Regions from separate parts of the Homo sapiens genome. Here regions 2, 3, 4, 5 and 6 are each linked to region 1. The links are contacts of gene promoters, found by promoter capture Hi-C in human tissues and cell types (Jung and others, 2019). All regions are on one chromosome and are shown on one strand. Each heading gives the region's core, a stretch centred on a gene start or on the middle of the fragment in contact. The rest is flanking DNA. Distances are from core to core; before and after follow the strand shown.

The links. The method cuts DNA at HindIII sites, captures the fragments that hold promoters and counts their contacts. A contact is called where the count stands out against the background at its distance.
Region 2: a fragment that was not itself captured here is called in contact with the fragment with the promoter of DIP2A in region 1 in 2 of the 25 tissues and cell types used here (dorsolateral prefrontal cortex and mesenchymal stem cells).
Region 3: a contact is called between a fragment that was not itself captured here and the fragment with the promoter of DIP2A in region 1, in 4 of the 25 tissues and cell types used here (IMR-90 fibroblasts, dorsolateral prefrontal cortex, lymphoblastoid cells and 1 more).
Region 4: a contact is called between a fragment that was not itself captured here and the fragment with the promoter of DIP2A in region 1, in 1 of the 25 tissues and cell types used here (lymphoblastoid cells).
Region 5: a contact is called between a fragment that was not itself captured here and the fragment with the promoter of DIP2A in region 1, in 3 of the 25 tissues and cell types used here (dorsolateral prefrontal cortex, lymphoblastoid cells and mesenchymal stem cells).
Region 6: a fragment that was not itself captured here is called in contact with the fragment with the promoter of DIP2A in region 1 in 4 of the 25 tissues and cell types used here (H1 embryonic stem cells, dorsolateral prefrontal cortex, lymphoblastoid cells and 1 more).

The regions. Positions count from the first base shown.
Region 1 is chr21:46,457,064-46,461,088 of GRCh38, reverse strand. DIP2A (disco interacting protein 2 homolog A) reads right to left here and starts at 2,198. Exons shown (of 38, transcript NM_015151.4): 1 at 1,867-2,198. The coding sequence starts at 1,957. It overlaps LOC124905046 (a long non-coding RNA gene), which reads left to right and starts at 2,376. Exons shown (of 2, transcript XR_007067915.1): 1 at 2,376-2,762. RefSeq lists enhancers at 1,005-1,074, 2,845-2,984 and silencers at 1,795-1,864, 2,055-2,604. The HindIII fragment of the contact is 5,308 bases long and covers 1-3,218 here.
Region 2 is chr21:46,202,111-46,206,135 of GRCh38, reverse strand. LSS (lanosterol synthase) reads left to right here. Exons shown (of 22, transcript NM_002340.6): 17 at 195-300. Among named protein-coding and RNA genes, the nearest start is that of SNORD159, 10 kb to the right of the region's middle. The HindIII fragment of the contact is 6,573 bases long and covers 1-4,025 here.
Region 3 is chr21:46,241,036-46,245,060 of GRCh38, reverse strand. It overlaps MCM3AP (minichromosome maintenance complex component 3 associated protein), which reads left to right. Exons shown (of 28, transcript NM_003906.5): 23 at 1-254; 24 at 1,339-1,596; 25 at 2,130-2,259. All of the region lies in intron 3 of MCM3AP-AS1 (MCM3AP antisense RNA 1), which reads right to left. Among named protein-coding and RNA genes, the nearest start is that of MCM3AP-AS1, 14 kb to the right of the region's middle. The HindIII fragment of the contact is 7,439 bases long and covers 1-4,025 here.
Region 4 is chr21:46,256,793-46,260,817 of GRCh38, reverse strand. It overlaps MCM3AP (minichromosome maintenance complex component 3 associated protein), which reads left to right. Exons shown (of 28, transcript NM_003906.5): 15 at 1-25; 16 at 1,727-1,879; 17 at 3,832-4,025. Among named protein-coding and RNA genes, the nearest start is that of MCM3AP, 27 kb to the left of the region's middle. The HindIII fragment of the contact is 8,306 bases long and covers 1-4,025 here.
Region 5 is chr21:46,289,721-46,293,745 of GRCh38, reverse strand. It overlaps YBEY (ybeY metalloendoribonuclease), which reads right to left. Exons shown (of 5, transcript NM_001314025.2): 3 at 2,284-2,412. Among named protein-coding and RNA genes, the nearest start is that of YBEY, 5.4 kb to the right of the region's middle. RefSeq lists enhancers at 3,353-3,934, 3,935-4,025. The HindIII fragment of the contact is 7,396 bases long and covers 1-4,025 here.
Region 6 is chr21:46,591,357-46,595,381 of GRCh38, reverse strand. No RefSeq gene overlaps it. Among named protein-coding and RNA genes, the nearest start is that of S100B, 12 kb to the left of the region's middle. The HindIII fragment of the contact is 3,264 bases long and covers 668-3,931 here.

The DNA.
Region 1 (4,025 bases), core at 949-3,448:
GTCTCCAAGCCAACGTGGCCTCCCAAAGTGTTGGGATTACAAGCATGAGCCACTGTGTACTCAGCCTGTACTTCCATTTTTAAAAATGTGCCACAAGCCAGGCACGGTGGCTCATGCCTGTAATCCCAGCACTTTGGGAGGCCGAGGCAGGCGGACCACCTGAGGTCAGGAGTTTGAGACCAGCCTGGTCAACATGGTGATACCTTGCCTCTACTAAAAATACGAAAATTAGCTGGGCGTGGTGGCAAGCCCCTGTAATCCCAGCTACTCGGGAGGCTGAGGCAGAAGAATCATTTCTACCTGGGAGGCAGAGGTTGCAGTGAGCCGAGATCACGCCATTGCACTCCAGCCTGGGCAACAGAGCAAGACTCCGTCTCAAAAAAAAAAAATGTGCCACATGTCACAACATTGTTAAAAATCTGAATGCTGAATTCAAAATAGTTGCAAGTACATGTTGTATTATATGTAAAACAAGATCACAACAGCATCTACCTCCCTAAGGTTGGCAAGGATTAAATGACTTACTGTATGCTAGTGCATATTATTTAGATGTTTTGAGAAATAACTACCCCAGACCCAGCAAAATCTTATCAATCTGAAACTTAAATTAAGGATAATAAGATTATTTAAAAAATGGATTCTAAAAGCTGAAAATGCATTTAGATCTCAAAAACAGAGTAAGAATCAATTACATGCTTTTCTTCAAGGACTGCAAGTCCTTTCTGACACTGGAGAAGAACTTAACTCTTTCCCAAAGACAGCCAAAAGGAATATCAGGACACAGGCCTTGAAAGGGATAACATCCAAATGGGAAATGCCACCCACCACCTCTGAAGCCAGATTACTCCAGTCTATTTTTATCAACCAACCATTTATACGACTTTTTTTTTTTACTTTAAAAAATTCCATGAGGGGGCTAACAACTCCTAAGTGTTATGTGCTTTGCATATATTAAGGTATTTTAGCCTCATAACAATCCAAAATGGAAAGTGCTGGTATAACCCCACTTTATAGATAATAAAATGAGGCACAGGGTGCAGCTCCTAGAGTATGAGGCGCGCGGCAAGGGCTCCCAGCTCCAAGGGAAGTAGCTGCCTGCGGACAACGGGCGCAGTCATCCTGGTGAAGCCCAGACCAAGCCCAGACCTACAGCCTTGAGAAAAGCGGGGCTCACAGCTTGGGGCAAAAGTGGTCATTCCTCTCAAGATTCTCACACCTGTCCAAACGACCTAGTCAAAGCCAGTCCTTGGGGTCGGATCCCATTGGGGGAGCAGCTGGGGATAGGGAAAGGTCTCCAGAAGTTTGGCAGGCGTCCCGGGGTGAGGAGTAAGGGTCCCAGGTGTGAAGGGCCTGGGGGGAGGAGTCCTTGTATGGGGGAGGGGTCCTTGTATGAGAGGCGGGGCAGTGGTCCCTGGTTTGAGGGGCCGCGCGGGTGTCCCGGGGCTGAGGGTCGGGAGTCCGGAGGGGCAGCGCGGGGCTCCCAGGGTGAAGGGCGGGGTCCCCGGGGTGAGGGGCCGCGCGGGGTTCCGGGGGTGAGGGGCAGGAGGTCCCGGGGGTGAGGGGCGGGAGTTCCCGGGGGTAAGGGGCCGGGGTCTCGGGGCGAGGGGTCGTGCTGGGGTCCCACATGAGGGGCGGGGTCCTAGGGTTGAGGAACGGTGTCTCCGGGGCGAGGGGCGGGTTCCAGGGTAGAGGAACCGGGGTCCCGTTGAGGGGCAGAGGTCCCAGGGGCGAGGCCGCGTGGGGGTCCCGGGGGTGAAGGGCGGGGGTCCTGGAGTGAGGGGCCGCGCGGGGGTCCCGGAGTGAGGGGCTGCGCGGGGGACCGGGCTGAGGGCGGGTCGCGGGGGTTGAGGGCGGGGTCCGGCTCACCTTCCGACAGCTCCAGCTCCAGCTCAGCCAGGCTCTCCCGCACCTCGGCAGGCAGCGGCGCCGCCTCCAGCGGGCACCCGCGGTCAGCCATGGCCAGGCCGGCTAGCGTCCGGGCAGAGGCTGGAACCGGACCGGGCCTGGCGGCGGCAGCGCAAACCTCGGCTACGTAGCTCCCCTCAGGCCAACAACCTACATCCGCCAGGCGAGGAGCGGGAGGCGGCGGGACAGGGGCGCGGCCAGGACAGCAACGCACCCGCGCGGGCACGAGCGCGGATGGCTCCGCCGCGCCGCCGCTGCCCCGCGCGCTCCTGAGCGCCCGGCCGGCCCTACACGGGAGCGCGTGCGCGGCGGGAAGGGCGGGTAGCGAGCGCGCGTGCGCAGTGGGTCTCGGGCCCGCGCAGCCCTCCCGGCCCCGCCCAGCAACACCAGAGCCTCGCTTCCATTGGCCCCGAAGACGCGTCGATGCCGCTCCGGGCTCCCATTGGGAGAGGCGGGAGAGCGCCGCTCCCGACAGGCTCTGCGCTGGGCCTGCTTGAGGGTGGCGGGCTTGAGGCGGGCAGGCTGCTTAGTTGCGGCCCGAGGCGCCTAAGTGGGGATGACCAACCCGTGGGCGTTGGCGCTGACCCCTAGGCGCCGCTGGTGGCCCCGCGCGCGGCCCTCCGGCCAGCCCCGCCCCTCTCGGGGCTCCTCCTTGGTCCCCGCGCCATGGCGCGTCCGCGTTGACCGCTGTCTTCCCTTTCGGGCTGTGCTGATCGCGAACGCTGCGCAGTCCGTGGTGGCGTCGAGGCACCTTTCTCGTGCCTTTACCTGTGTTCACTCCTTTGCTTTAAAAAACAGCCCTAGAAGTACACATCGTTGGCCCCGAAGGAGCCCCAGCAGCCATGTCGGACCGCGAGGTGACCTTGGAGGGCGGGAGGACGGACGAGGGGCCTGGCGGAGCTAGACTGAGAGGGCGCCGCCGGCGTCCTGAAGGCCCTGCTCCCCGAATGTGTGGGAGTGTGTCTGACGGTGCGAGGGTGGCTGTGGCGGGGCCTGAGCAGCGTGTCCGTGTCCCGATGCCGCCCGCCTGTTACTGAGTTAGGCAGGAGTGCCCGAGTCTGGCGAACTTCAGCAGTTCTCGTTCCAGAGCTCCACACGAGGTTGGCCAAAGCTTTGCGGGACTTACATACCCTTCTTCCTCCGCCCAGTCCTGCTTCCTTCCCCTTCCTTTCACGGGTGTTGATACCATGTCAACATCCTCGTACCCCAAACTCAGTCGCAGCGTCTGCTTCTGGAGAAACCATTCTGCAGCATTAAAGCTGGTGAGAAGATGGGATTCGAGGCTGCATCACTCACCAGTGGTGAAGTAGGAGGGTGAACTAGTGAAATGGAATCCACGAGTGGGTGAAGTATCAGACATTTCATATATGGTGAACGTAGTAGATAAAAGGAAGGAAAGGGGGATTGGATAGCTATTGCTTAGTGCCAACCGAGACTCTTAAGAATAGTGGTCAGCTGAAGGCAAGCAACAAACAGTTGTAAGCCAGTGAATCTGTCCCGTTACATATAGAGAAGCTTCATTTACTGCAGCAGGTCAAAGACAAGAACCAGGCCCAGGAATTAACATCCCTGTTTGACTGAACTCCAAAAATAGCAAAACACCCAAACAAGGCAATACTCTTCCACTAAGTTTGGATCCCTGCTAAGAAAAGATGAGGCTGGGCACAGTGGCTCACACCTGTAATCCCAGCACTTTGGGAGGCCAAGGCGGGAAGATTGCTTGAGTTCAGGAGTTCAAGACCAGCTTGGGCAACATGACAAAACCCCATCTCTACTGAAAACACAAAAAATTAGCCGGGCATGGTGGCCACGGCTGTGGTCCCAGCTGCTTGGGAGGCTAAGGTGGGTGGATCACCTGAGCCCTGGAAGTCAGGGCTGTAGTGAGCTGTGACTGCACTCCAGCCTGGGCAACAGGAGTGAGACTCTGTCTTTTAAAAAAAAAAAAGAAAGAAAAGAAAAGCCCGTCATACATGGGTTGGAGATACCTGGGTAGATGCCTTCAAAGGTTTTGACTCCCCAAACTGCCTTAAACCTTTTTTTCGTAGACAGTGTCTCACTCTGTTGCCCAGGCTGGAGTGCAGTTGCTGGATCATGGCCCACTGTAGCCTCAACTTCCTGGG
Region 2 (4,025 bases), core at 1,092-3,591, 260 kb after region 1:
CCCTCATCTTCGCTCTCAGGTAGCACAGGTGTGTGTCCTGGACCAGCCGGCGTTTGCTCTGGAGGTTGGTCAGGGAGGCAGCGTCCGGGCCCGGGCTCACTGCAACACTCTTGCTTGTTGTGGCTTTGCCTGAGCTGCAGAGCCTGGGCAGCCAGGGTGAAACCCAACACTTGGTTCTTCCCTCCCTTTCCCAGGGGACATCATGATTGACTACACCTATGTGGAGTGCACCTCAGCCGTGATGCAGGCGCTTAAGTATTTCCACAAGCGTTTCCCGGAGCACAGGGCAGCGGAGATCCGGTAAGGAGGGTCTCAGCCATTCAGTGTGGGCGCTGCCAAGTCGGGGGCCAAGACCCAGACGCATCATTCTGTGACACGGCCCTGGTGGCCCATCTCAGAAGCGAAACTCATGGAAACATGCAAGAGGCTTCGGATGTTGTGGAATCCAGTCATATGCCCTAAAGCATACAAAATATCTGTTAGGGGCTCAGAATAGCACAGTTATGATACAAAAATGGATTTTCTCTCTCTTTTAATAATGTTAAGAAGACATCACATACCTGACTCCACCGGTGTCCCAGAAACGGTTTTTAAGTAACCTTTCCTGTTGAAGGGTAGCAAGTATTCAGAAAAGTGTACAGGTTGGTCTTCTTGAAGCAAACAGGAAGCGAACAGTGCCAGCATTAGACATGGTGACACCACCAGAGCCCTCGGCCCGCCCCATGACGGGGCCGCCCACATGCCTGCCAGGTCGTGGGTGTCTGTTGCTCGCTTTGGATCTTGTCTAGGTGGACTCCTGAGGTGTGGAATTCGTGTTGCCTTCTCCTGCTCTCCTGCTCTCCTGCTCGCGGTTAGTCAGGTGGCTCGGGTAACAGCAGCGTTCTCTCCCTCGGGCCTTCGGTTGAACACAGATGCCGCGCTATCCAGCTGCCTGTTCTCAGCACCTGGGAGGATTTCAGTCTGGGTTATTATGAAGCATCTACTGTGAACACTCTTGTACTTATCTTTTGGGGGCACCTGGGTACCCATTTCTCATGGTCACGTACCTAGGAGTGGCATTGCTGTGTTAGAGGGTACGTTATAGGGTATGTGATTTTTGTAGGTTCTTCTTTATCCTATCACGATTACATTTTTTTACTTTTGTTCAACCTGGTGTAGACTCACCTTGGTCACAATGCACTGTCCTTTTTATATATTGCTAGATTCAATTTGAAGAATATTTTGTTAGGATTTTAGCAACTCTGGTTACAAGAGACGCTGGTCTATAATTTTTTTTTCTTTATAATGTTTTTGTCAGGTTTTCCTGTTAAGATGATGCTGGACTTAGAAAAGCAGTTGGAAAATGCTTTTAAAATACTCTTTGGAAGAATTTATGTAATATTCATAATATTTCTGCCTTAAATGTTTGGGAAAAATTACCGGAAATGCCAGTTGGGCCTGGAGATTTCTTTGAGGAAAGTTTTTAAATTAGAAGTTCAATTTCTTTCTTTCTTTCTTTCTTTCTTTTTTTTTTGAGATGGGTTCTAGCTCTCTCACTCAGGCTGGAGTGCGGTGTAATTTCTTTAATAGTTTATAGGACTGAGCAGATTTTCCATTTTTGTATCAGTCTGGGGAGTCTTCCCATTTCCACTCAGCTTTACACTGATTCATGCAAAGTTGTTCAGTGTCCTCTTAGATGGCTCTGAGCCCAACGCTGACATCCTCCTCTTCCTTCTGAGAATCTTATACTGATCTTTTGAAAAAAAAAAAATCTTAGTCTTTGATTCTGTTTTTAAAGAGACTTTATTTTTGGTTTCATCAATTTCTATTGTTTGTTATTTTCTTTCTTTCTTAATTTTTTTGAGATGGAGTCTTGCTCTGTTGCTGAGGTTGGGGAGCAGTGGCGTGATCTCAGTTCACTGCAACCTCCGTTTCCGGGGTTCAAGCGATTCTCCTGCCTCAGCCTCCCGAGTAGCTGGGACTACAGGTGCTGACCACCATGACTGGCCAATTTTTTGGTATTTTTATTAGAGACAGGGTTTTACCATGTTGTCCAAGCTGGTCTTGAACTCCTGACCTCAGGTGATCCACCTTCCTTGGCCTCCCAGAGTGCTGGGATTACAGGTGTGAGCCACCACACTGGCCTTTGCTATTTTCTTTCTCCTTTATTTTTCTAACTTGAATACTTAGATATTTGATTTTCAGGCTTTTATTGAAATATGAATTTGAGGCTATAAATGAGTTTTGAGATATCATTCAGTTAAATGTGTGTTCTGGTGCTTGCTGTGGTAGCACAGATACTAAAAGTGTTTTCTGTTTCTACTGTTCTTCTCTGGCCCATGAGTTATGTGGGAGTATGCTGCTTCATTTACAATCTGAGAATGTTCTGGTGTGGTTTTTTTGGAAGCCGTGGATGGAGCAGGGGTTTTCTTGTGCTTCACAGGTGCAGCTAGGAGGGCACTGTGTCCAGGGTCTTCTGTCGGCCTGGCGTGGCCCTCGGCCATGTGCTGCTCTGCGGCATGAGGTGGGCGTGAGTTGTCCTCAGCCACATTTAGAGAATTGGCCTTTTAAAAAATAGATCATCTTTTAAAAATCACTGTAATAAAAGTAAAGCAGGTTCTTTGCAAACAAGACTTGCAAAATACAGAGAAGCGCAAAGAAGAAGCTAAGTCGCCCCTCCTCGCCCCTGAAGGAGAATCTGCTGTTGCTGTTTGGTCTCCACATTTCCATGGCGGCTTGCTGCCCCTTTCACGCCTGGCCCACTTTGTGCCTGGTGAGGTTTCTAAAAGCCCCACCATTGAGCGCGCTCCTCCAGCACGAGCAGTAATGGCACAGGTGTTGTGTCATTTTACTCAGTAGCCTCTGGGTTATTTTTCAGTTTTCCTTGTTGTTTTTTAGCTTTTCCCCATTTTAACCTTAACTGGTATTTTCTTGTTAAATATTTATTCATGACCATTATTATTCCCTAGAGCCACATGGCTTGGGGTCCACCTGCCTGGGTCAGCCCCCATCCCTGCCCCTTCTGGCTGTCTGACCTGGCCTGGTGACTTCTCTTCTCTGCTCATCTCTCTCCCTGCCTGAGTGGGCAACAGTACAGCCTCACAGAGTGGTGGGATTGTGTGAGATGCCACAGGGAAGCACATGTCAGTTGTTGTCACTGTGTAGAACAATGAGTCCCGGATGTGGCCCGCAGGGGAGCAATGGTGACTTAATCGCGGGCTTCCTCTGCATTTCTTTGGTGACTTCCAAGCTAGAACATTCTTTTTTTGTTTATTTGTTTGAAGCAGGGTCTCACTCTGTTACCTAGGCTGGAGTGCAGTAGCAAAATCATGGCTCACCACAGTCTCAAACTTCCGGGCTCAAGCAATCCTCCCACCTCAGCCTCCTGAGTAGCTGGGACTACAGGTGCATACCATCACCTGTGGCTAATTTTTTAAATGTTTTGTATTTTTTAAATGTTGCTCAGGCTGGTCTTGAACTGCTGGGCTCAAGCAATCCTCCCACCTCGGCCTCCCCAAATGCTGGGATTACAGAGTGAGCCACCACACCCAGCCATTTTTAAAATTTTCACCAGGAAGTTTTTTCTTTCATTTTTAAGCACAGTAAGTATTTGTGTATTATGTTACAGATATTTTCCCCTCAATTTCTTTGTTCTTTTTATCTCTTTAGGGAGTATGAACATAAGTTTTTAACTTTTAAATGGTTAAATATATTAGTGTGATTTTTATATTAAGATTTTATTTTATTTATTTTTTTTTTTTTTGAGACGGAGTCTCGCTCTGTCGCCCAGGCTGGAGTGCAGTGGCGGGATCTCGGCTCACTGCAAGCTCCGCCTCCCGGGTTCACGCCATTCTCCTGCCTCAGCCTCCCAAGTAGCTGGGACTACAGGCGCCCGCCACTACGCCCGGCTAATTTTTTGTATTTTTAGTAGAGACGGGGTTTCACCGTTTTAGCCAGGATGGTCTCGATCTCCTGACCTCGTGATCCGCCCGCCTCGGCCTCCCAAAGTGCTGGGATTACAGGCGTGAGCCACCGCGCCCGGCCTA
Region 3 (4,025 bases), core at 602-3,101, 220 kb after region 1:
GCGTCTGGGCGGTCTTGCTTCTCAGGAGCCTGGCGCCATCATTGAGCTGTTTAACAGTGTGCTGCAGTTCCTGGCTTCTGTGGTGTCCTCTGAACAGCTGTGTGACCTGTCCTGGCCTGTCACTGAGTTTGCTGAGGCAGGGGGCAGCCGGCTGCTTCCTCACCTGCACTGGAATGCCCCAGAGCACCTGGCCTGGCTGAAGCAGGCTGTGCTCGGGTTCCAGCTTCCGCAGATGGACCTTCCACCCCTGGGGGGTACGTGCTTGACCTGGGGAGGTCTGGTGGGTGGCTGCAGCCAAGTCTCAGGCTTCCTTCTCACTGTAGTAACCGTCTGGCAGGTGTTGGGCACCAGTGTGAGGGCTGCACGTCCACCTCCGTGTGTCTCCATGCTGTGCTCGCCTGCACCTTCCTTTGGTCCTTTGGGTTCATGAGCCAGAACAAGCTGGGTTTTGTGGAGTGGGGGCTGTTAGCCTTTCCTGACCAGCAAGGCAGTCCATGGGAGTTCACTCAGCTTCAGGAGAAAAGTGACAAGTGGTACTGGGAGGAACACCAACCCTGATCCTGTCCTGCCTGCCCACAGGGTCCCTGTTTTCAGAACAGACAAGGGGCAAAGAGCATGGGGACCATGTAGCCCTGTCCCCAAGCCGCAGCCATGGCACTCAGTGCTGATTTAACATTCTTTCTTTGTCAAAGAGGCCTTCTTCTATGGCTCTGGCTGTGCCCCTGTTCCTGGCTGAGGTCTTTGGGCTGTTTTGACACAGATCCGACAGGCCATCTGGCTGGCTCAAGCCCAGTATGGCATGGGGCTGCTCCTTCCTATGCACTCAGAAGGGAATGAGCTGCTTATCTGGCAGAAGTTGTGGCATTAGCACAGACACTCCCCTTTGGGCCTCAGGCGCCCTTCTAAATTGTGGTGTGTGGTCTGTAGTAGGTCTAACTCATGCTCATTATTGAAGGAACCCAAAGGGAAGCAAACCACTCAGCACAAGCCCTCGGTGCTCTGGTTAGGTTGGGGTTCCCCAAAATAAGCTAAGACTGCTTATACCAGACTCATCTGGGTGCTTGTTAAAATACAGATTTCCTAGGCACAACCACAGGCCTGTACAGTCAGAACTTCTGGGTAGAACTTGGCTAGCAACACTGTTAAGGGGGACTGTCTGCATCCCTCACCTAGACCCTGGGAGCAAGCTGCTCTTCCCCCTCAACAACTGTGGTTCTGCTGTGTTTAGAAAGCAGACTTCTCAACTTCACAGTTGCCTTCTCCTGAGAAAATGTTTTCATGTACATTTTCACCTGTATTTTGGCCAAACCTGTAACTAATGAGGCACTTTCTCCCCAGCCCCCTGGCTCCCCGTGTGCTCCATGGTTGTCCAGTACGCCTCCCAGATCCCCAGCTCACGCCAGACACAGCCTGTCCTCCAGTCCCAGGTGGAGAACCTGCTCCACAGAACCTACTGTAGGTGGAAGAGCAAGAGTCCCTCCCCAGTCCATGGGGCAGGCCCCTCGGTCATGGAGATCCCATGGGATGATCTTATCGCCTTGTGTATCAACCACAAGCTGAGAGACTGGACGCCCCCCCGGCTTCCTGTTACATCAGGTAATTAGAGCTTGATGCAATGGGATCAGCTCCTCACGAGACTTTCCTGGTCCAGTTTCTGCAAAGGAAGATGTTTAGTTGATGTTGCTGCTTTTCTTTTGGGTCTCTATCCTTCCTTTCCTTAGGACTTCCCTCTTCAAGTGAGTGACTTAAAAACATTGAGACAGGCTAGGAAGTTTCTGGTAGAGCCTGAACTCACCTCCCTGAAACAGGCCCCCTAGGATGGCTCTTAGAGAGGATTTTGTGGCTTTTGAGTAGTCATTACTGGCCCTGCCAGTCTCGATGTAAGCTTGTCTGGACTTTGAGTGATGCATGGACCCTGGGAGCCTATTTAACCCAAGTGTGGAAGTCACATAATTGTGTGACTTTAATCAAAGGTCTTGCACTTAAATCAGTGAATTTAAGCACATGCCACCTGTCGCTGTTTAAATATTATTTGTACCTGTTTTTGTTTTTTTGTGTGTGTTTTTTTTTTTTTTGAGACAGGGTTGGCCAGGCTGGCCTCTTTATCTGTTTTTGTATTGTTTTCTCAGAGGCGCTGAGTGAAGATGGTCAGATATGTGTGTATTTTTTTAAAAACGATTTGAAAAAATATGATGTTCCTTTGTCGTGGGAACAAGCCAGGTTGCAGACGCAGAAGGAGCTACAGCTGAGAGAGGGACGGTGAGGTTCATGTTCAGTATGTTTCTGTTGCTTGCTAAACTGTATTTTTCTTGCAAAGTAAATAGAAATTAACATCCTACATGCCAAATCCAGTCCACTGTGGGCAGACTGTGACAAATCCTCAAGGAACAGATCATTCCCATGCAGTAGAAACTATTCTAGAACAAAGTTAAAGCATCTCACTTCATTTATCAGGCATACCTGACCCTGAAATCATACCTAACCAGGAGAGTACAGCTGACATTTCATCTCACTTCCAAATTTGGTTCCAAAGCACAGTACCTAAAAAAGTTCACAAGTATGCTTTCTCCCAGGATAAACAATAACAGTGAAAATCTATTAATGTAATTTGTTGCCATAATAGAAAAATAAGTGGTAATTTTAGCAGGCGTTGAAATACGTTTCTTAAAATTTATACCTGTTCCTGATAAAATTTCTTTATTTTGGGTACTTTCTTTAGCTTGGGTTAAAAAAAAAAAAAGTCCTAACTTGATAAGGCTACCTAACATAAAACTACCAAAATAGAAAAAAAACATGCTTCTTGGTAGAATGTTAGGAACAGTGGAATCAGAACCAGCCTGTTGTCCCGACTATTATTCACTATTGTCCTGGAAATCCTGACCAGTACAGGGATGTGGGATAGACAGGCACAAATACTGAAAGGAAGGAGAAACTGTCATTTCCAGACAGTACAGTTGTCAGTCCAAGAAAAGTCAAGTCCATAGAACCATTCTCAGTTCAATAAGGTGATCAGATAGATAGATCCACAACATGTTAAAAAAAAAAAAATTCTCATTCACAACAATAAACCTGAACAGAAAGGGCACAGGATGGTGGAACTTTGCTGTTCCTTCTTGTTCCCCATAGAGATCCTTGAAGTACCTTCTCCAACTCCATGATACTCTAAAAACTGTTCATCTTCATAATAGGAGTGGAGCCTAATCCTTGGTCTCCTCACCTCCTGGTTTCCCGGAATGTCTTTCTCATTAACATATGAGTTCTCAGGGCCTGTATGTGCAAAGGAAACCTGAACCATTGAGGTTCAGACTAGGTTGTTGACAGGATACAATGCTGTGAAGATGTCAGTACTGGTAAGTTCTAAAATTCATCAGGATAAACAAATATGCATCAATTGCTGAGAAAGTTTTAAATAAGACTAACATGGTTTGCTTGGCCTGATACCAAGACATACAGTAAAGCTCCAGTACTTAAAACCATGTGGGGATGCCAGAGTAGATAAATGGATCAGAATAAAGAGTCAGAATATGTGACAAAAGTGTTAGGCCAAATTATTGAAATTAGTGGGGAAAAGACAAACATTGGCATGTGTTTAGAAAAAAATGTCAGATGCCTTCTCTCTCACCATTTGTAAACATTACTTCCAAATGTATCCAAGAGCTATCTATAAAAAACCTTGCCAATACTAGGGAAGAACAGAATCTGGAACCCTAGGGTGGGAAGCAAGACATGAAGCAGAGAAGCTCCAAAAACCTAGCTGCCTCTTGAGAGCAGAAGCTTCCAAGAGGAACAGGCAGTCTCAATGCCTCTGTGCATAAGGGTCCCTACAGTGCAGGGGCTGCCTTCCCTCTTTGCTCCACTCCCTGACTTGATGGAAGCTTGGAAGCAGGCATGGGGCCAGCATGAGCTGTTCCAGGAGGGCACATGTGTCTGAGGCACATGTTCTTACATGTTAATGCACATGTGCAAATGTATCTACATGCTTTACATGATGCTGTAGAAATATTTTCTCTTGACCATAAACATTT
Region 4 (4,025 bases), core at 1-2,500, 200 kb after region 1:
GGGAAACCTGCTCCCAGGAGTTGAAGTAAGTGAAACGCTGGTGTCTTGCTGTGCCAGGAGAGTGAGCTTTGGCTCTGCCCTAGGCTGTGTCTTGCACCACTGAGGATGGGCTATTGGAAATGGATCTTGCCTGTCTAAGCTACTTTGATTTTGTGACCAAATGTATTTGATGCAGTCCTCTGTGCTCCCTTGGCTAATAGAATTTTATTATAAAAAATTCTCTTTTATATGAGGGCTGCCACCACATGATCATAGTCAGCCATCCTTATTAGCCACTGGCATTTATCATATATTTGAGACACTTCCAATTGATTGCACAAGTCAGATGTTGCTGATGAGAAGATTTTGTGGTTGTCTGCATGGTAATTTACAAATTCTACGCCAGGCACCTGTAGTCCCAGCAACTCAAGAGACTGAGGTGCAAAGATCACTTAAGCTCAGAAGTTCCAGGTAGTGTGCTATGACTGCACCTGTGGTGGCCACTGTACTCCAGCCTGGGCAACATAGTGAGACCCTGTCTCTAAAATAATTAAAAATTCTGACTATTTTATTAAGATAAAGGTTTATTTCTTAACTGTTACGAGGGCCCCTATGGACCTATAATTTGGCACCCTGTTCCACTTAATTCTTTTTACCCTGTCTTTCTAGGTGTCTGTAGTTTAAGTATTAAAGCTTCTTTTACAATGAAGATAGAATTACATTTTAATACTGAGGATGCAGACTCTTGCACTTTTTTTTTTTAAAGACGGAGTCTTGCTCTGTCGCCCACACTGGAGTGCAGTGGCGTGATCTGGGTTCACTGCAACCTCTGCCTCCTGGGTTCAAGCGATTCTCCTAGCTCAGCCTCCCAAGTAGCTGGAATTACAGGCATGCACCGCCATGCCCAGCTAATTTTTTTTTTTTTTTTTTTTTTGAAATGGAGTTTTACTCTGTTACCCAAGCTGGAGTGCAGTGGTGCCATCTCGGCTCACTGCAAGCTCCGCCTCCCGGGTTCACGCCATTCTCAGCCTCCTGAGTAGCTGGGACTACAGGAGCCTGCCAATATGCCTGGCTAATTTTTCATATTTTTAGTAGAGACGGGGTTTCACCGTGTTAGCCAGGATAGTCTCGATCTCCTGACCTCGTGATCCGCCTGCCCTGGCCTCCCAAAGTGCTGGGATTACAGGCATGAGCCACCGTGCCTGGCCGCCAGCTAATTTTTTGTATTTTTAGTAGAGACGGGGTTCTACCATGATGGCCAAGCTGGTTTCGAACTCCTGACCTGAAGTGATTTGCCTGCTTTGGCCTCGCAAAGAGCTAGGATTACAGGTGTAAGCCACTGTGCCTGGCCGACTCTTGCACTTTTCTTTTTTTTTTTTTTTTGAGACGGAGTCTCGCTCTGTCGTCCAGGCTGGAGTGCAGTGGCGCGATCTCTGCTCACTGCAAGCTCTGCCTCCCGGCTTCACGTCATTCTCCTGCTTCAGCCTCCCGAGTAGCTGGGACTACAGGCGCCCGCCACCACACCAGGCTAATTTTTTTGTATTTTTAGTAGAGACAGGGTTTCACCATGTTAGCCAGGATGGTCTGGATCTCTTGACCTCATGATCCACCCGCTTCGGCCTTCCAAAGTGCTGGGATTACAGGCGTGAGCCACCGCGCCTGACTGACTCTTGCACTTTTCAAGCAAGCCCTCAGTGTCTGTGGGCCCCAAGTGCAGTGTCTTCCATGCTGATTGCCCTGTTTCTAGGAATGCAGTAGAGACAGACCAGAGGGTCCGTGTGGCCCGTTGCTGTGAGGATGTCTGTGCCCACTTAGTGGACTTGTTTCTCGTGGAGGAAATCTTCCAGACTGCAAAGGAGACCCTCCAGGAGCTTCAGTGCTTCTGCAAGTATCTACAGCGGTGAGTCCTGTGTTCCTACAGGCAAAATCCACACACACGGGGAAGAGTCTTTTAACAAATTCAAAATATATGAGCTATTAGTTTCTGTATTCAGTGGTAAAAGGATGAGGGAAAATGTTATAGCAATGAATACCTAAAATAGACTAATTGGATTATACTGCATTTCAGAAATACTTGATTACACACACACACACACACACATACAATATAAGGGGAAAAGTCAGGAGTTAGATTGGGACGTGGTGGCTACTCTGTATGTCAACTGATATTTATAGGGTGCCTGCCATTTGCCCACTGCACTAGGTGCTGGGAGACAGCTATGAACAAGCCAGATTATGGCTGCATGCACCAATAAGGGTGAATTCTCAAAATATAAGTAGTGGAGAAAAAGCAATTAATAGGGAATATACAAATAGTGTATATTCAAACTAAATAGGTTGTTTCAGATTTATATATAGTGGTATAACCCTAAAGAAAAGAAGGAAAATAATGATCATAATCTCAGCATAGTGGTTACTTTTGGGAATGGGAGGTGGTGCCTCTCATGGCCACAACTTCTCAACTGGGTGTAAGTGCACAGGTGCTTGATGATTTATTAATCTTATAACTGGGCATATATGTGTTACGTATGTTGTATGATTCATTTCATAATAAAATTTAAAATCAGTAATAGTGTCCTTGGTAGTTGGAACAGTATAAAAGGGAGTATGGGGAGAAGTGAGTCTTCCTTCTACAACAGACCCCTGTCCATTGTGCGAGCAGCAGCTGCTTGCGAAACCATCCAGAGACTTTCTGTCCTTTCTTGTGGCTCTTGGCACAGATGGGCTCATGATCCCTGCTTTGCTCTGAGCCTTCCTTTGCTCCATCTGATATGAGGTGGAGGCTTGGCTGTAGCAGCATGCTGAGCTGTCCCCGTTGCCAGTGGTCTTGAGGTCAGTGCGATAATGTACCATAAATGACCTTCCTGGTCTTCTGTTGATGGACTTTCATGTGGCTCTTTTTTTTTTTTTTTTTGAGATGGAGTCTCACTCTGTCGCCCAGGCTGGAGTGCAGTGGCGCAATCACAGCTCACTGCAACCTCCACCTCCCAGGTTCAAGTGATTCTTCTGCCTCAGCCTCCTGAGTAGCTGGGACTACAGGCGTGCGCCACCATGCTCGGCTAATTTTGTTTTTTTTATTTTTAGTAGAGATGGGGTTTCACCATATTGGCCAGGCTGCTCTCGAACTCCTGACCTCGTGATCCGCCCGCCTCGGCCTCCCAAAGTGCTGGGATTACAGGCGTGAGCCACCGAGCCTGGACGTAGCTCTTTTTAGCTCTGGTAAAGACTGTTGCAGTGACTGTTGTTGTACAGACAGACATCTCACCCGTTTGCACACAGGCACGTGTGTGGAGATAAATTCCTATCAGTGGTGGCTGTGGGTCAAGGGATATATGTATCTTTTTTTTTTTTTTTTTTTTTTTTTGAGACGGAGCCTTGCTGGTACACACAGCCTGGAGTGCAGTGGTGTGATCTCGGCTCACTGCAACCTCCACCTCCTGGGTTCAAGGGATTCTCCTGCCTCAGCCTCCCAAGTAGCTGGGACCACAGTCGCCCACCACCATGCCCGGCTAATTTTTTGTATTTTAGTAGAGATTGGGTTTCACTGTGTTGCGCAGGCTGGTCTTGAACTCTTGAGCTCAGGCAGTCCGCCCGCCTTGGCCTCCCAAAGTGCTGGGATTACAGGCGTGAGCCACTGCACCCAGCTGGGTATATGTATCTTAAATCTGTATCCATATTGCCAAGTCAGCCTCCAAAGCTCATTCAGTATTAACTGTTAACGTTCGGTAGTTTCATTGCTCACCACACTCATTTGATGTCCTTCCTTCCCCATGCCTGAGTTCTGACTGCAATGTGTTTCTCAGTTTGAAGACCCTGAAAACACTCTGTGATGATACATTTTCATGTCCCCAGGTGGAGGGAAGCTGTCACAGCCCGCAAGAAACTGAGGCGCCAAATGCGGGCTTTCCCTGCTGCGCCCTGCTGCGTGGACGTGAGCGACCGGCTGAGGGCGCTGGCGCCCAGCGCAGAGTGCCCCATTGCTGAAGAGAACCTGGCCAGGGGCCTCCTGGACCTGGGCCATGCAGGGAGATTGGGCATCTCCTGCA
Region 5 (4,025 bases), core at 774-3,273, 170 kb after region 1:
ACTTGCGTGGCTGACTCCACTGAGTCCCGGGCACGGGTCAGGCTAACCGCGGGAGGAATTTAATCTAGAGTCTAACTTGCGTGGCTGTCCCCACTGAGTCCCGGGCACGGGTCAGGCTAACCGCGGGAGGAATTTAATCTAGAGTCTAACTTGCGTGGCTGACTCCACTGAGTCCCGGGCACGGGTCAGGCTAACCGCGGGAGGAATTTAATCTAGAGTCTAACTTGTGTGGCTGTCCCCACTGAGTCCCGGGCACGGGTCAGGCTAACCGCGGGAGGAATTTAATCTAGAGTCTAACTTGTGTGGCTGACTCCACTGAGTCCCGGGCACGGGTCAGGCTAACCGCGGGAGGAATTTAATCTAGAGTCTAACTTGCGTGGCTGACTCCACTGAGTCCCGGGCACGGGTCAGGCTAACCGCGGGAGGAATTTAATCTAGAGTTTAACTTGTGTGGCTGTCCCCACTGAGTCCCGGGCACGGGTCAGGCTAACCGCGGGAGGAATTTAATCTAGAGTTTAACTTGCGTGGCTGTCCCCACTGAGTCCCGGGCACGGGTCAGGCTAACCGCGGGAGGAATTTAATCTAGAGTTTAACTTGTGTGGCTGACTCCACTGAGTCCCGGGCACGGGTCAGGCTAACCGCGGGAGGAATTTAATCTAGAGTTTAACTTGCGTGGCTGTCCCCACTGAGTCCCGGGCACAGGTCAGGCTAACCGCGGGAGGAATTTAATCTAGAGTTTAACTTGTGTGGCTGTCCCCACTGAGTCCCGGGCACGGGTCAGGCTAACCGCGGGAGGAATTTAATCTAGAGTCTAACTTGTGTGGCTGTCCCCACTGAGTCCCGGGCACGGGTCAGGCTAACCGCGGGAGGAATTTAATCTAGAGTTTAACTTGCGTGGCTGACTCCACTGAGTCCCGGGCACGGGTCAGGCTAACCGCGGGAGGAATTTAATCTAGAGTTTAACTTGTGTGGCTGACTCCACTGAGTCCCGGGCACGGGTCAGGCTAACCGCGGGAGGAATTTAATCTAGAGTCTAACTTGCGTGGCTGTCCCCACTGAGTCCCGGGCACGGGTCAGGCTAACCGCGGGAGGAATTTAATCTAGAGTTTAACTTGCGTGGCTGTCCCCACTGAGTCCCGGGCACGGGTCAGGCTAACCGCGGGAGGAATTTAATCTAGAGTTTAACTTGCGTGGCTGTCCCCACTCAGTCCCGGGCACAGGCCAAGCTAACCACGGGAGGAATTTAATCTAGAGTTTAACTTTAAATCAAGAATAGTAATCATCCCTCCCTAAAACGAATCCCCTCCTTGCTCAAGACCGAAGCCACCTCTGTGAAGCTTGTGAAGGGCCACAAGATTAGGATGATGGGAGGGGCCTGAATTCTGCTCAGATGTAGGTGTCCTGAGGAGAACCAGCCCGCAGGCCTTGCTTCCCCAGCTTGCCCTGCTGTAATTCCCTACTGCTCAGGACTCACGCAGCCAGAGGTCACGAGATTTGTGACCGCCCCAATTGCTCCCCAATAAGATAACGTCAATAGTACAACCTAAGAATGGTCTTTTGGGATGTTTTTCAGACTTTTGAGTTCTGGCAACCTACAGACTCCACCTGGACCTGAGACTCATGACTCAGCTGATCCCGTGGCTCCACGCAGAGGCGGACTCAGGGGACAAAAATCGTTGACACCCCATGGTCCGTCTGCAGCCGATCAGCAGCAGGCATTCCCTAGCCCCTGCCTGCCAAATTGCCTGTAGAAACTGTAGCCTCTGAGTTCTCTGGGAGATTGAGTTGAATAATAACTCCAGCCTTTCTGCTTGGCTAGCTCTGTGTTAAACTCTTTCTCTACTGCAATACCACAATTGCAGTGAATTGGTTTTGTCTGTGCAGTGGGCAGGAAGAACCCATAGGTGGATTACACTGAGGAGAAACAGATCTGGAAGGTGGTGGAGGCTCCAACTTCTGTACTTCTGGCAGCTCAGAAAGAAGCTGATTCAGCAGGTCTGTGTTAGCTCAACATAGTCTGCTCTACTCCAGAGATAAAAGCTGAGAAGGCTTCTCTGGGAGCTTCTGTGTTTTCACAGCGTGTTCTCTCCCTCCTTCAACTGTGGCATGGGGCATGCAGTCCCTACCCAGCCTGGGTGCTCCTCACACCCTGCTTACAGGTTCTTCCCCCAGTAGCCCTTACGGTACCCACGGACACACATGGATGCAGGGTTGTGATCTTGACCCCTTTGCAAGGCCCATGTTCCATGAGCCAGGTTATATGATTTCAGCATCCCCGCTTACAGTCAGGACGTCATTGTAATCTTCATTTTCTTTACACTGATGGAAGATATACTCCACTCCTAGGAAAATGTCTCCCAAATTGTAGTCATCTGGAAAATCAGGCTGGGGAAATTCACCTGCTTTCAGATGCTAAAAAATGAGGAAATGTAGACTTAGAGAACAGGAAACGTAACCCAACCACAGGTTGACAGGTTTCATCCTGGTTAATCCCAAGGCAAATAAGCACTTATCTCTGAGCCAAATCACTTTTTTTTTTTTTTTTTTTGAGACGGAGTTTCACTCTTGTTGCCCAGGCTGCAGTGGAATGGCGCGATCTCGGCTCACTGCAACCTCTGCCTCCCGGGTTCAAGTGATTCTCCTGTCTCAGCCTCCTGAGTAGCTGGGATTACAGGTGCATGCCACCGTGCCCAGCTAATTTTTGTATTTCTTTTTTTTTTTTTTTTCCTGAGACAGAGTTTCCCTCTTGTTGCCCAGGCTGGAGTGTCCGCCTCCTGGGTTCAAGCAATTCTCCTGCCTCAGCCTCCCGAGTAGCTGGGACTACAGGCATGCGCCACCACGCCCGGCTAATTTTGTATTTTTAGTAGAGACTGGGTTTCTCCGTGTTGGTCAGGCTGGTCTCAAACTCCCAACCTCAGGTGATCCACCCGCCTTGGCCTCCGAAAGTGCTGGGATTACAGGCGTGAGCCACCGCGTCTGGCCTAATTTTTGTATTTTTTAGTAGAGATGGGGTTTCATCATATGGGTCAGGCTGGTCTCGAACTCCTGACCTCAGGTGATCTGCCTGCCTCAGCCTCCCAGAGTGCTGGGATTACAGGCGTGAGCCACTGTGCCAGCCACCCAAATCACTCTTAAGATGCATGTCTCAGGCCAGAGTGGCAGCTGGGCCTGTGGCGGGTGGGTTGCCCAGCCAACCGTACACAAGTGCCCTAAATTGTTTCCATTGTGAAAATTGTCAGAATAGCCAGGCGTGGTGGCTCACAGCTGTAATCCCAGCACTTTGGGAGGCCGAGGCGGGCAGATCAAGAGGTCAGGGGTTTGACACCAGCCTGACCAACATGGTGAAACCCCATCTCTACTAAAAATACAAAAATTAGCCAGGTGTGATGGCACATGCCTGTAACCCCAGCTACTCGGGAGGCTGAGGCAGGAGAATCGCTTGAACCTGGGAGGCGGAGGTTGCAGTGAGCCCCTAGACTGCGCCATTGCACTTCAGCCTGGCTGACAGAGCAAGACTCCGTCTCAAAAAAAAAAAGGAATTTGTCAGAATAAAAATGGAGCCATTAGGGTTATACAAACAAACCAAAAAACCTGACAAATAGAGCTGGGGAAAGCTATGAAGAGAGGATTCTCATACTTCCATGCCTGATAACAAAAACTGTCACTAAAGATGGCAAAAACTGCAACAAAGGCTATGACAACCTTACACACATACAAAACTGCAACCTTGCACAAAGGCTATGACAACCTTACACACACACACGAAACTGCAACCTTGCACAAAGGCTATGACAACCTTACACACACACAAAACTGCAACCTTGCACAAAGGCTATGACAACCTTACACGCACACAGAAACTTCTGCAAGGATAATCTGCCCAGCAACTGCCTGTCTAACCTTGGACGGACATTAATCTTGTTATTGATCTTTGCAACCAAGGATCATTATCTCAAAACAATTATGTTTTTTTCCTTTAAAAACCTTTGCCAGGCGGGGCTCAGTGGCTCACGCCTGTAATCCCA
Region 6 (4,025 bases), core at 1,050-3,549, 130 kb before region 1:
CATATTGGGTCCCATGGCCCCCTACAGCTCACTGCACAAAACTCTGCTGGGATCTTGCTACATATCCCAAGTACCAGGCCCCCCAGGTCTGAAGTGGGACCATGACTCCCTGGGGTTTTTAGCTGTGAGACTGATCAAACAAGAATTCAGGTGATTTTTTTCCTCAGGGAAGTTAATAACACCAGATCAGCAAGACAGCACTGTCTGCCTAGATTATACCTCTAGAGGAATTGTGACCATCCTCTGGGTGTACCAGCCCCCTCACTCAAGAGTTGACTGTGCAAGGCAGAGAGTGGAAAAGGCCTCAGCTTCTCTAATACCCAAGGATTCCTGAGCAGGGACATCACTGCCTTTGCCCAGGCTTACAGTAGCCAGGCCCCTCTGGACTGCAGTCTCCTCATTCAAGAAAGTAGGAGTGTTGGGTGGTGTGCAGATAGTGCACTAAAGTGCACCCCACCCTTTCCTACTGGTCTTCACATCTTGTGAAATCCCCAGCCCCTGGGTGTTCCTGATCTCAGTTGTGAGGAAGGATCCATTAAGTATCCATTGAGTATGTTAACTGTGGGTTTTTGTAGTTGCCCTTTATCAGGTAAATTTCCCTTATATTCTTAGGGTTTTGGATTTTTTTCAAAAGCTTTTTCTGTGTTTACCGAGGTTGATGCAGGATTTTTGTTGTTGTTGCTGCTTTGCCAGCTGGAAGCTTCTTTAGCCAGCAGGACCTCTGTTCAGTTATTCCCATCACCCCACTCTGGCCCATGGCTCCCAGGCTGGCCTGGCCCCACCAACACTCCCATTGCATGGGCCAGCTGGCATCAGGGGAGTAAAGGAGGGCTACAGTGTTACAGCTCCTTTTTGCACCTGCTGTTCAGCGGGTCCCAGGTTCTTGTCCCGCGTCCAAGAAGAATGAGGTTATGCAGACAACCAAAGAGTGAGCAGGGCGGAGAATTTTATCGAGTGACAAAACAGCTCTCAGCAGAGAGGGGGACACGAGTTGGGTGCACTACCCTTACCCAAAATCAGGTAGTCCTCCCTGTGCCTGAAGGTGGGCAGTCCCTGCAAGTGTGGCTGAGTCCGGGGCCTTTTTTTTTTTTTGGATGGAGTCTCGCTCTGTCGCCCAGGCTGGAGTGCAGTGGTGCGATCTCAGCTCACTGCAAGCTCCGCCTCGCGGGTTCATGTTATTCTCCTGCCTCAGCCTCCCCAGCAGCTGGGACTACAGGCGCATGCTGCCACGCCTGGCTAATTTTTGTATTTTTAGTAGAGACGGGGTTTCACCGTGTTAGCCAGGATGGTCTCAATCTCCTGACCTTGTGATCTGCCCACCTCGGCCTCCCAAAGTGCTGGGATTACAGGCATGAGCCACCGCACCTGGCCAAGTCTGGGGCTTTTATGGGCTCAGAATGGGGGAGTGTGTGGTGATTGGTTTGTGAGTATGCAAAAAAGGCTAAAACAAAGGCACCACTCAAAGATGGAAACAACAATGTAAAAATGTAAAAAAAAACAATTAGGGAAGGGTAGGTATATGTAAAATAGGTGAAGGGTGGGGGTCAATCAGAGGAAAGCACATCAAATGGGAAGAGAGGTTCTCAATCCGGTCCATGGATTTATCTGAGATTTGGAGCTTGGCATTCAGGTTTTTTTTTCCTTTTCTGTAGCAATTTTTAAATTTTATTTTATTTGCATAGGTTATTGGGAAACAGGTGGTGTTTGGTTACACTAATAAGTTCTTTGGTGGTGATTTGCGAGATTTTGGTGTACCCATCACCCGAGCAATATACACTGCACCCTATTTATAGTATTTTATCCCTCACTCCCTTCCCACCCTTTCCCCAAGTCCTTGTATTAGTCCATTTTCACACTTCTGATAAAGACATACCTGAGACTGGGCAACATACAAAGGAAAGAGGTTTAATGGAGAATTCACAGTTCCACGTGGCTGGGGAAGCCTCACAATCATGGCAGAAGGCAAGAAGGAGCAAGTCACATCTTATGTGGATGGCAGCAGGCAACGACAGAGTGAGAGCTTGTGCAGGAAAACTCTCCCTTATACTAACCATCAGATTTTGTGAGACTTACTATTATGAGAACAACACAGGAAAGACCTGCCCCCATGATGCAGTTACTGCCCACCAAGTCCCTCCCACAACACATGGGAATACAAGATGAGATTTGGGTGGGGACACAGGCAGACCATATCATTCCACCCCTGGCCCCTCCCAAATCTCATGTCCTCACATTTCAAAACCAATCATGCCTTCCCAACAGTCCCCCAAAGTCTTACTTCAGCATTAACTCAAAAGCCCACAGTCCAAAGTCTCATCTGAGACAAGGCAAGTCCCTTCTGCCTATAAGCCTGCAAAATCAAAAGCAAGTTAGTTACTTCGTAGATAGAGTAGGGCTACAGGCATTGGATAAATACAGCCATTCTAAATAGGAGACATTGGCCAAAATGCTGGGGCTACAGACCCCATGCAAATCTGAAATCCAGTGGGGCAGTCAAATCTTAAAGCTCCAAAATGATCTCCTTTGACTCCATGTCTCACATCCAGATCACACTGAGGCAAGAGGTGGATTCCCATGGTCTTGGGCAGCTCAGCCCCTGTGGCTTTGCAGGGTACAGCCTCCCTCCTGGCTGCTTTCATGGGATGGCATTGAGTGTCGGCAGCTTTTCCAGGCCCACAGTGCAAGCTGTCTGTGGATCTACCATTCTGGAGTCTGGAGGATTGTGACCCTCTTCTCACTGCTCCACTAGGCAGTGCCCCAGGAGGAACTCTGTGTGGGGGCTCCAACCCCACATTTCCCTTCTGCACTGCCCCAGCAGAGATTCTCCGTGAGGGCCCCACCCCTGCAGCAGACTTTTGCTTGGGCATCCAGGCATTTCCATACATCTTCTGGAATCTAGGTGGAGGTTTCCAAACTTTAATTCTTGACTTCTGTGCACCTACAGGCTCAACACCACGTGGAAGCTGCCAAGGCTTGGGGCCGCCACCCTTGGGTAACAGCCCAAGCTGCACCTTGGCTCCTTCCAGTCACAGCTGGAGTGGCTGGGATGCAGAGAACCAAGCCCCTAGACTGCACACAACACAGGGACCCTGGGCCTGGCCCATGAAACTGTTTTCTCCCAGGCTTCCAGGACTGTGATAGGAGGGGCTGCTGTGAAGACCTCTAACATGCCCTGGAGACATTTTCCCCACTGTCTAGAGGATTAATATTCAGCTCCTTGTTATTTATGCAAATTTATGCAGCCGGCTTCAATTTCTCCTCAGAAAGTGGGTTTTTCTTTTCTACCACATTGTCAGGCTGCAAATTTTTTGAACTTTTATGCTCTGTTTCCCTTATCAAACTGAGTGCCGTTAACAGCACCCAAGTCACATCTTGAATGCTTTGCTGCTTAGAAATTTCTTCTGCAAGATACCCTGAATCATCTCTCTCAAGCTCCAAGTTCCAGATATCTCTACAACAGGGGAAAAATGCCACCAGTCTCTTTGCTAAAACGTAAGAGTCACCTTTGTTCCAGTTCCCAACAAGTTCCTCATCTCCATCTGAGACCACCTCAGCCTGGACCTTATTGTTCATATCGCTATCAGGCTTTTGGTCAAAGCCATTCAACAAATCTCCAGGAAGTTCCAAACTTTCCCACAATTTTCTGTCTCTTCTGAGCCCTCCAAACTGTTCCAACCTCAGCCTGTTACTCAGTTCCAAAGTTGCTTCCACATTTTTGGGTATCTTTTAAGTTGCACCCCACTCTACTGAATACCAATCTACTGTATTAGTCAATTTTTACATTGCTGATAAAGACATACCCAAGACTGGGCAAAGGAAAGACTGGGCAAAGGAAAGGCTTTACAAAGGGAAGAGGTTTAATGGAGAACTCAGTTTTACATGGCTGGGGAAGCTTCACAATCATGGTGGAAGGCAAGGAAGAGCAAGTCACATCTTATGTGGATGGCAGCAGGCAAACAGAGAATGAAAGCTTGTGCAGGAAAACTTCCCCCATATAATAACCATCAAATCTCATGAGATATACT